Linked DNA regions of Homo sapiens: all the other regions are linked to region 3. The links are contacts of gene promoters, found by promoter capture Hi-C in blood cells and fetal thymus (Javierre and others, 2016). All regions are on one chromosome and are shown on one strand. Each heading gives the region's core, a stretch centred on a gene start or on the middle of the fragment in contact. The rest is flanking DNA. Distances are from core to core; before and after follow the strand shown. Region 1 holds the start of KLK2 (kallikrein related peptidase 2). Region 2 holds the start of KLK1 (kallikrein 1). Region 3 holds the start of C19orf81 (chromosome 19 open reading frame 81).

What was found. Contacts are between HindIII fragments. The CHiCAGO score rates a contact against its expected background, and 5 or more counts as called.
Region 1: a contact is called between the fragment with the promoter of KLK2 here and the fragment with the promoter of C19orf81 in region 3, in 16 of 17 cell types (activated CD4 T cells, neutrophils, erythroblasts and 13 more). The highest score is 15.7, in activated CD4 T cells.
Region 2: a contact is called between the fragment with the promoter of KLK1 here and the fragment with the promoter of C19orf81 in region 3, in 11 of 17 cell types (neutrophils, erythroblasts, activated CD4 T cells and 8 more). The highest score is 10.6, in neutrophils.

The regions. Positions count from the first base shown.
Region 1 is chr19:50,872,149-50,874,848 of GRCh38, forward strand. KLK2 (kallikrein related peptidase 2) reads left to right here and starts at 1,291. Exons shown (of 5, transcript NM_005551.5): 1 at 1,291-1,371; 2 at 2,573-2,700. The coding sequence starts at 1,326. RefSeq lists promoters at 1-1,316, 691-1,316, 963-1,316, an enhancer at 1,115-1,129 and a cis regulatory region at 1,115-1,129. The HindIII fragment of the contact is 10,018 bases long and covers 1-2,700 here.
Region 2 is chr19:50,822,314-50,825,045 of GRCh38, forward strand. KLK1 (kallikrein 1) reads right to left here and starts at 1,474. Exons shown (of 5, transcript NM_002257.4): 1 at 1,390-1,474. The coding sequence starts at 1,435. The HindIII fragment of the contact is 16,614 bases long and covers 1-2,732 here.
Region 3 is chr19:50,648,098-50,650,797 of GRCh38, forward strand. It overlaps C19orf81 (chromosome 19 open reading frame 81), which reads left to right and starts at 1,348. Exons shown (of 5, transcript NM_001195076.2): 1 at 1,348-1,414. The coding sequence starts at 1,348. It also overlaps a transcript of SYT3 not described here. RefSeq lists an enhancer at 232-281. The HindIII fragment of the contact is 10,880 bases long and covers 1-2,700 here.

The sequences.
Region 1 (2,700 bases), core at 41-2,540, 220 kb after region 3:
TTTTTTTTTGTAGAGAAAGGGTCTCACTTTGTTGCCCTGGCTGATCTTGAACTTCTGACTTCAAGTGATTCTTCAGCCTTGGACTCCCAAAGCACTGGGATTGCTGGCATGAGCCACTCACCGTGCCTGGCTTGCAGCTTAATCTTGGAGTGTATAAACCTGGCTCCTGATAGCTAGACATTTCAGTGAGAAGGAGGCATTGGATTTTGCATGAGGACAATTCTGACCTAGGAGGGCAGGTCAACAGGAATCCCCGCTGTACCTGTACGTTGTACAGGCATGGAGAATGAGGAGTGAGGAGCCACCGGAACCCCATATTGTTTAGTGGACATTGGATTTTGAAATAATAGGGAACTTGGTCTGGGAGAGTCATATTTCTGGATTGGACAATATGTGGTATCACAAGGTTTTATGATGAGGGAGAAATGTATGTGGGGAACCATTTTCTGAGTGTGGAAGTGCAAGAATCAGAGAGTACTGAATGCCAACGCTTCTATTTCAGGAACATGGTAAGTTGGAGGTCCAGCTTCTGGGCTCAGACGGGTATAGGGACCAGGAAGTCTCACAATCCGATCATTCTGATATTTCAGGGCATATTAGGTTTGGGGTGCAAAGGAAGTACTTGGGACTTAGGCACATGAGACTTTGTATTGAAAATCAATGATTGGGGCTGGCCGTGGTGGCTCACGCCTGTAATCTCATCACTTTGGGAGACCGAAGTGGGAGGATGGCTTGAGCCCAGGAGTTGGAGACCAGCCTAGGCAACATAGCCAGACCCTCTCTCTACAAAAAAATTAAAAATTAGCTGGATGTGGTGGTGCATGCTTGTGGTCTCAGCTATCCTGGAGGCTGAGACAGGAGAATCGGTTGAGTCTGGGAGTTCAAGGCTACAGGGAGCTGCGATCACGCCGCTGCACTCCAGCCTGGGAAACAGAGTGAGACTGTCTCAGAATTTTTTTAAAAAAGAATCAGTGATCATCCCAACCCCTGTTGCTGTTCATCCTGAGCCTGCCTTCTCTGGCTTTGTTCCCTAGATCACATCTCCATGATCCATAGGCCCTGCCCAATCTGACCTCACACCGTGGGAATGCCTCCAGACTGATCTAGTATGTGTGGAACAGCAAGTGCTGGCTCTCCCTCCCCTTCCACAGCTCTGGGTGTGGGAGGGGGTTGTCCAGCCTCCAGCAGCATGGGGAGGGCCTTGGTCAGCATCTAGGTGCCAACAGGGCAAGGGCGGGGTCCTGGAGAATGAAGGCTTTATAGGGCTCCTCAGGGAGGCCCCCCAGCCCCAAACTCACCACCTGGCCGTGGACACCTGTGTCAGCATGTGGGACCTGGTTCTCTCCATCGCCTTGTCTGTGGGGTGCACTGGTGAGATTGGGGGGATAAAGGAAGGGGGGCGGGTTCTGACTCTTATGCTGAAGCCCTTTTCCTCCCACCCAGTGCCCCAGCCTCGTCCCTTCAGCCCACAGTTCAGCCCAGACAATGTGCCCCTGACTCTTCCACATTGCAATAGTCCTCATGCCCACACTAGGTCCCCGCTCCCTCCCACTTACCTCAGACCTTTCTCTCCATTGCCCAGCCAAATCCCTGCTCCCAGCTGCTTTACTAAAGAGCAAGTTCCTGGGCATCTCTGTGTTTCTCTTTATGGGGTTCAAAACCTTTCAAGGACCTCTCTCCATGCCACTGGTTCCTTGGACCCTATCACTGGGCTGCCTCCTGAGCCCCTCAGTCCTACCACAGTCTACTGACTTTTCCTATTCAGCTGTGAGCATTCAACCCTGTCCCCTGGACCTTGACACCTGGCTCCCCAACCCTGTCCCAGGAAACCCAGATTCCACCAGACACTTCCTTCTTCCCCCCGAGGCTATCTGGCCTGAGACAACAAATGCTGCCTCCCACCCTGAGTCTGGCACTGGGACTTTCAGAACTCCTCCTTCCCTGACTCTTTGCCCCAGACCCGTCATTCAATGGCTAGCTTTTTCCATGGGAAAAACACGAGCACCCCCAACCACAACGGCCAGTTCTCTGATTCCCTAAATCCGCACCCTTTTCAAAACCTCAAAAACAAAACAAAACAAAACAAAGCAAGAAACAACTCAGGCAGAACTGTTTGCTTAACCTTGGACATGGTAAACCATCCAAAACCTTCCTCTCCCAGCAACTAAACCTCTCCACTGGGCACTTATCCTTGGTTTCTGGAACCTCTTATTCTCTTAGAACCCACAGCTGCCACCACAGTGTCCCTTCTCCCAGTGTAAGACCCCAAATCACTCCAAATGACCCAACCCCCAACCCGATGCCTGCTTCAGATGTTTCCCATGTCCCCTACTCTGATCTCTGGGGTCAGCTCCGTTCTCAGAGCATGAAGCCTCCCGACCTGGTCCAGCCACCAACCCGCTAACGCAGGGAATAGCTACAGAATTGCCAGCCCTCCCAGGACCCCTTGCTTGTGTCCTGGACTCCCAGTCCTGGTCCTCTGCCCCCATGTCTCTTCAAACCCACAGCTCAGCTCCCTCCCCTATCCAATTCTTTTGGGTCTGATCCCCCTGACCCAGCACCCCCTCCGCAGGTGCCGTGCCCCTCATCCAGTCTCGGATTGTGGGAGGCTGGGAGTGTGAGAAGCATTCCCAACCCTGGCAGGTGGCTGTGTACAGTCATGGATGGGCACACTGTGGGGGTGTCCTGGTGCACCCCCAG
Region 2 (2,732 bases), core at 224-2,723, 170 kb after region 3:
TCCTAGGCTAGGGAAACAGGACCTGGGTTGGGCTTTTGAGGTTCAGGAAAGGATGCAGCTTTAGGGAACCAGGTCTGAGAGGTAAAGAAGAGCATCTGGACTGAAGAGTTTGGGGGTGACTTGGGGTCCCTACATTGGGGTTGGAAGGGGCCAGCTTGGCTGGGACAGTTAGATTTCAGGGCTTCCTGGTTAAAGGGTAAAAGAAAGGGCTATGGTTAAGGCTAGAGGTGGGCTTCCGAGAGGTTTTGGGGTCCTTCCTGTGAACCAGGAATGGCAATCTGAGGGGAGGTTGGGGCCCTGAGAACACAGTTGCGGTCAGGACTGGGACGGGGCTCAGGAGGAGGGAGGCGTGAGTGGCAGTCCTTCTCGGACAGGGTGAAGGATGGGATCTTCGTTTCTCATGGGGATGGGGTTCATGGTCTGAGGGTACTGGAAGGATATGGGGTCCTCTTGGAGGCAATCCTAGGAAGAGGATTGGAGAAGTGGTGAGAACAGGCGCCAAGCAGCTGTGGGAATGCAATGCAGGACCCACTTGACGTGAGGTTGTAGAATCACATACTGACTTGGGGGAGGCCAGGGCAGAAGCGCTGGCTGAGAAGGCATTCAGGATCCTTGGGGTGGGGTTCCAGAAAACCAGAGCTGTGTAGGAACAATTCAGGCAGAGAAGGGCTGGGGCCTGGGGCGGGATGGAACTTCCCCAAGGAAAGGAGCATGTGGTGGGAGGGTGTGGTGTTTTTCCTGGGAGAGCTGGGGGTGCTGGGTGGGAAGGGACATTTGCAGACCCCCCCCCATACCAGATGGGGGATCCCACATGCCAGTTTGGGAAGCAGGGTTTTCTGGTGAAATTTGGGGGACCCTGGAAGGACTGGGGAGACCAGATGTCAGGGTCTGGAGGACACAGTTGAGAGCGGACAGCTGGATGGAAAAAGTCACTGGAGTGTGGTGGGATTTGTAGACTCAGGAGCCAAATAGGTGGCCGCAGGGAACTAGGGGGCAGGAGGGGATGATCAGAGTCCTGTGGGGTGGGGGAAGCCCATGGGAGGGTTGGGGTCCTCCAGAGAGAGACAGAGATGGCCCAGAATCTGCCCCTTTGGTAAAGCGGTGGGACAGGGCGTTGGCTAGGGAAGAGGAGAAAGTACTGAGGCTTCCTGGGAGGAGCAGGAATCTGGTGTGGGAGTGAGCACTATGACAACATGGAGGAGCGGGGGTGGAAGTTTAGGGTGGGGCCGCGCAAGATAGATAAGAGCCGGGGCACCCCGGACTAGGATAGACTGTGGGCCAGAGGGATGAGGGTGGGGTGTTGGAGGGGAAGGTCTTATCGGGGGGGGATGTGAGGCCAGCAAGAGAATCAGGGCCCGTTCCCCCTCCCACATCCCCCCACTGTCTCACCAGTCCCCCCCAGGGACAGGGCGAGGCACAGAACCAGGAACCACATGGTGACAGAGGTGTCCAGGGGCCAGCAGGTGGAGGAACTGGGGAACCTCCCTGGGGAGGCTTTTAAAAGCCCTTATCCCCTCAGAGCCCCACCCCTGCCCTGCTGGCACCCAGATGTTGGCCAAGGCCCTTCCCCTGTTGCCTGGGGGCTGGACAATTGCCCCCCCCCCCTCCGATCCCCAGAGCTGTAGACGGGGAGGGAGAACCAGCACCTGTTCTGCAGGCCCTGGATCACGCTGGACGCATTCCTGGGGTTGAAGCCAGGTGGGGCAGGGCCTGTGGCTCTGGGGCTTTGCTCTGGGGAGCAGCCAGTGAGGCAAGGGGGGACTGAGGGGAAGCAGAAACAGGAAGACGGAGGAATCAGTGACCCCTGGTACAAAGCCCCATATACCTCAGTCTCAATTAAGGCCCTGCACCCCCAGACCTGGTGCCCTCAAACACCAGCAGTTAGGGCTCTGATTCCCTGCACCACTCGGAGCCAAGATACTAGCATCTCAGCTGCCAGTTCCCCCTGAAATATAAGCCTTGGCCTTCAGAATGCCCTGGTTCTTGCACTCCCAGACCCAGGACCTAGGTCCCCAAAGCTACTGTTCCTTTCATAATAAAATTTTGGGGTACACATCACCACATTCCTAGTGCCTCCAGATCCAGGAATGTGAAGTTTCAGGGGTCTCCCAGGGTAAGTTCTTTAGCATTACAAAATCCAGTGTCCCTCCCAAACAATGCTGGGGTCTCAATGAGCCTCCCACTTCTTGCTCCCAGTTATGGGTGCTCAACGTCCTGTCCTCCAAAGTCCCAGAGATCTGGACAACCTTCCCTCCCAGGTCAAGATCAGGCTAACCACAGATTCCAATGACCCTTCCCCCCCACCACCAGTACAATATTTAGGTCTCACGAGCCAGGTTCATGTACTTCAACATTCAGCGACCTTGAACATCACATTTTGTGGTCTCTGAAGATAATTAGGAACTAGATTCCTGCAGCCTCAATGGTAAACCCATAGGCTTCCAACAGGTTGTCTTGGCTTTTTGGTAAAATCAAAGCAGCTCAGAGTTCCAGCCTCTGCTGTATATCAGGGACCTGGCTAAGGAAAGGACAGTATTTGCCTTTTTGCCATGGCTACCAGGAAGCCCAGAACTAAATCTTTTTTTTTTTTTTTTTTTTTCTGAGATGGAGTCTTGCTCTGTCACCAGGCTGGAGTGCAGTGGCGCGATCTCGGCTCACTGCAACTCCTGCCTCCTAAGTTCAAGCGATCCTCCCACATCACCCTCCCAAGTAGCTAGGATTACAGTCGTGTG
Region 3 (2,700 bases), core at 98-2,597:
TGTCTGTATCTTTGGGCTATGCTTCCCTCGTGTTGTCTTTGCTCTCAGGCAAGTTATCTCCCTGCATGGTGATGTGGTAGCACCGAGAGCTCCAACCCTGGCTCTGACCAGCCCCAAAACCACAGGGGAAAAACCCTGTTTTCTAACAGGTCCAGCAAAAGTCCAAAGGTTGACTTTGTAGCCTAGATTGATTCTTAAGCTCGCCACTGAACAAATCACTGAGGAAATCAAGGTGCCACCACCTAGAACGAATACTTAGTAAGCAGGAACAACAGACAGTCCAGAGACCATCTGGATGTGGAGAAAGAGGAAGAGAAAGAGATACAAGTAACAGAGACAAAGACTGCAAGGACAGACAAAACAAATAAGCGAAGGTCCAGCTTCCTCTCCCACAATTCCTGCAGAGAGCTCTGCAGACCCAGAGAAAGGGATGCTGAACAGGCACCTACACGGCTAGACCCCTTCTCTCTAGCACGAGAGGCCCCGTGAGACCCCAGACCCAGAAGTCCAGGCCCCCATCCTCTCCTCCCTCAGACCCAGGAGTCCAGACCCCAGGCCCTCCTCCCTCAGACCCAGGAATCCAGGCCCCCACCCCTCCCCCTCCCTCTGGAGGCACCATGGCAACCAGGCCCCCTGCCCACCATCCCCTCCCCACTAGAGAACCCACTTTCGTTGGAATCTCGCCTGTTTCTAACCAGTTCCTGGCTGGGGCAGGGATGAGCAGAGGGCAAGTGGGAACAGAAAGGGGATGACAGAGGGGAGGGGGCCTCAAGGGGGCAGTGGAGGCAGCTAGGAGAGGATAGAGATGGGGCAAGGAGACTGGTGAGAGGTGGGAAGACAGAGAGAGGGTGACGGGGTTAGGGAGAGGCAGAAAACGATGAAGACAAGGAGGGACGGGGGCCTGGGGAGATGCTGGGGAAACTGATGGAGACTGAAGAGATGGAGCCCAGGAGAGAAGGAGGGAGGAGGAGGGCAGAGAAATCAAGCAAAAGAGTGGTGGAGACGTGGGGACAGAGGGGAGGAGGCAGGGGGGCAGAGAGATGGGGAGAGAATGAGGAAGGGAGGTGGAGAGAGAGGGGTGGGGAAAGGGACTCTAGGAGACAGAGAGAGATAGGAGGAAAAACAGGGAAATGGGAAAGAAGGGATTGGGGCACACAGGGAGTCCCTGAGGTCAGGGGAACCCAGATCTCCACATGGTCTCAGCCTTCCAGTTCCTCTGTAATTCTACCCCGGGGCTTCAAAGAGGAGGTAGAGGAGGCAGCGGTGGGGAGAAGGAGCTGGGGTGGGTGGCCCAGGCAGAGCCTCTCTTGCCACCTTCCTGAGACATCCCTCACCCACCTTCCCAGGATGCAGCCAGAGGTGGAGCCCGTGTGCTTCCCTGCCATGGGCAGCCCCACCATGCACAGGAAGGCAGGTACTGAGCTGTGTCTTTGGGGGAAGGGGTGGACTTCCTCCATCCAGGCAGTGCGTAGTAGCCCGGGCTCACAGTGTGGCCTTAAGCGAGTCACTGGCACTCCAAAGTGAAAGCCATCCCTAGCATTCCTGGATTCACCAGATTCCTGGAGAGCGGCCCCCTTGGACCTCAAACTACATTTCCCATGAGCCTCTGCAGTTCCTTGGCCAATGCCCTGGACTCAGAACTACATTTCCCATGAGCCTCTGGGGCCTAAGCAACACCTCTGAGGCCATTCTTCTCCTAGGTAACCTCACTGTCTTGTCTCCCACCCTGAGCTCAGCATCTTCCCCCAAAGCTGCTCTCCTCCTTCCTGGTTTCCATTTTCAAATGGCCCCACCGCCAACCCAGTCACTGGTGCCATCCTTCCACCTCCCACAATTCCCTCCCACAGCCCATCAGGCCCTATCTTCCTGCCCTCTGACTCTCCCTTCCCCATTCCTTCCTCTCTGTCCCCGCAGCCCTGTCCCAGGTCTCATCCTCTTCCATGTGGACCCTCTCCTCACCTCCTCCCTGGTCCCCAGTTTCTCTCCTCCTACCTATCCCTCCATGGCTCCAGAGAGGTCTCTCTGACTTCCTGCAGTGATCCTGGCTGTCCCTTGCTCATAACACTTCCTAGCTTCCTGTCACCTCTAGGACAGAGACCCAAAGCTCCAGCCTGGCTTTTGAGGCCCTGTGTGGTCTGACCCCTGCTGACAACTTCAGGCTCCTAGCCCAGCACTTCCTGCTAGCACTCTGTGCTGTAGCACAGCTCATGCAGTTACACTCATTCAACATTTATGGAGTAGTATCTCAGTGAGGATGCATGTAACTGCAGGTAATAGAAAACCAAACTCAGGACTGGGTGTGGTGGCTCACGCCTATAATCCCAGCACTTTGGAGGCCGAGGTGAGTGGATCACCTGAGGTCAGGAGTTCAAGGCCAGCCAGCCTGGCCAACATGGTGAAACCCCATCTCTAAAAATACAAAAATTAGCCAGGTGTGGTGCCGGGTGCCTGTAATCCCAGTTACTAGGGAGGCTGAGGCAGGAGAATCGCTTGAACCCAGGAGGCAGAGGCTGCAGCGAGCCAAGATTGTGCCACTGCACTCCAGCCTGGGTGATGGAGGGAGACTCTGTCTCAAAAAACAAAACAAACAAACAAACAAACAAAAACACCCAAAACCAAAACTCACTGCAGCCTTGAGCTCCTGGCTCAAGTGATCCTCCCACCTCAGCCTTCGAGGCCGAACAAATGCCCTGATGGCAA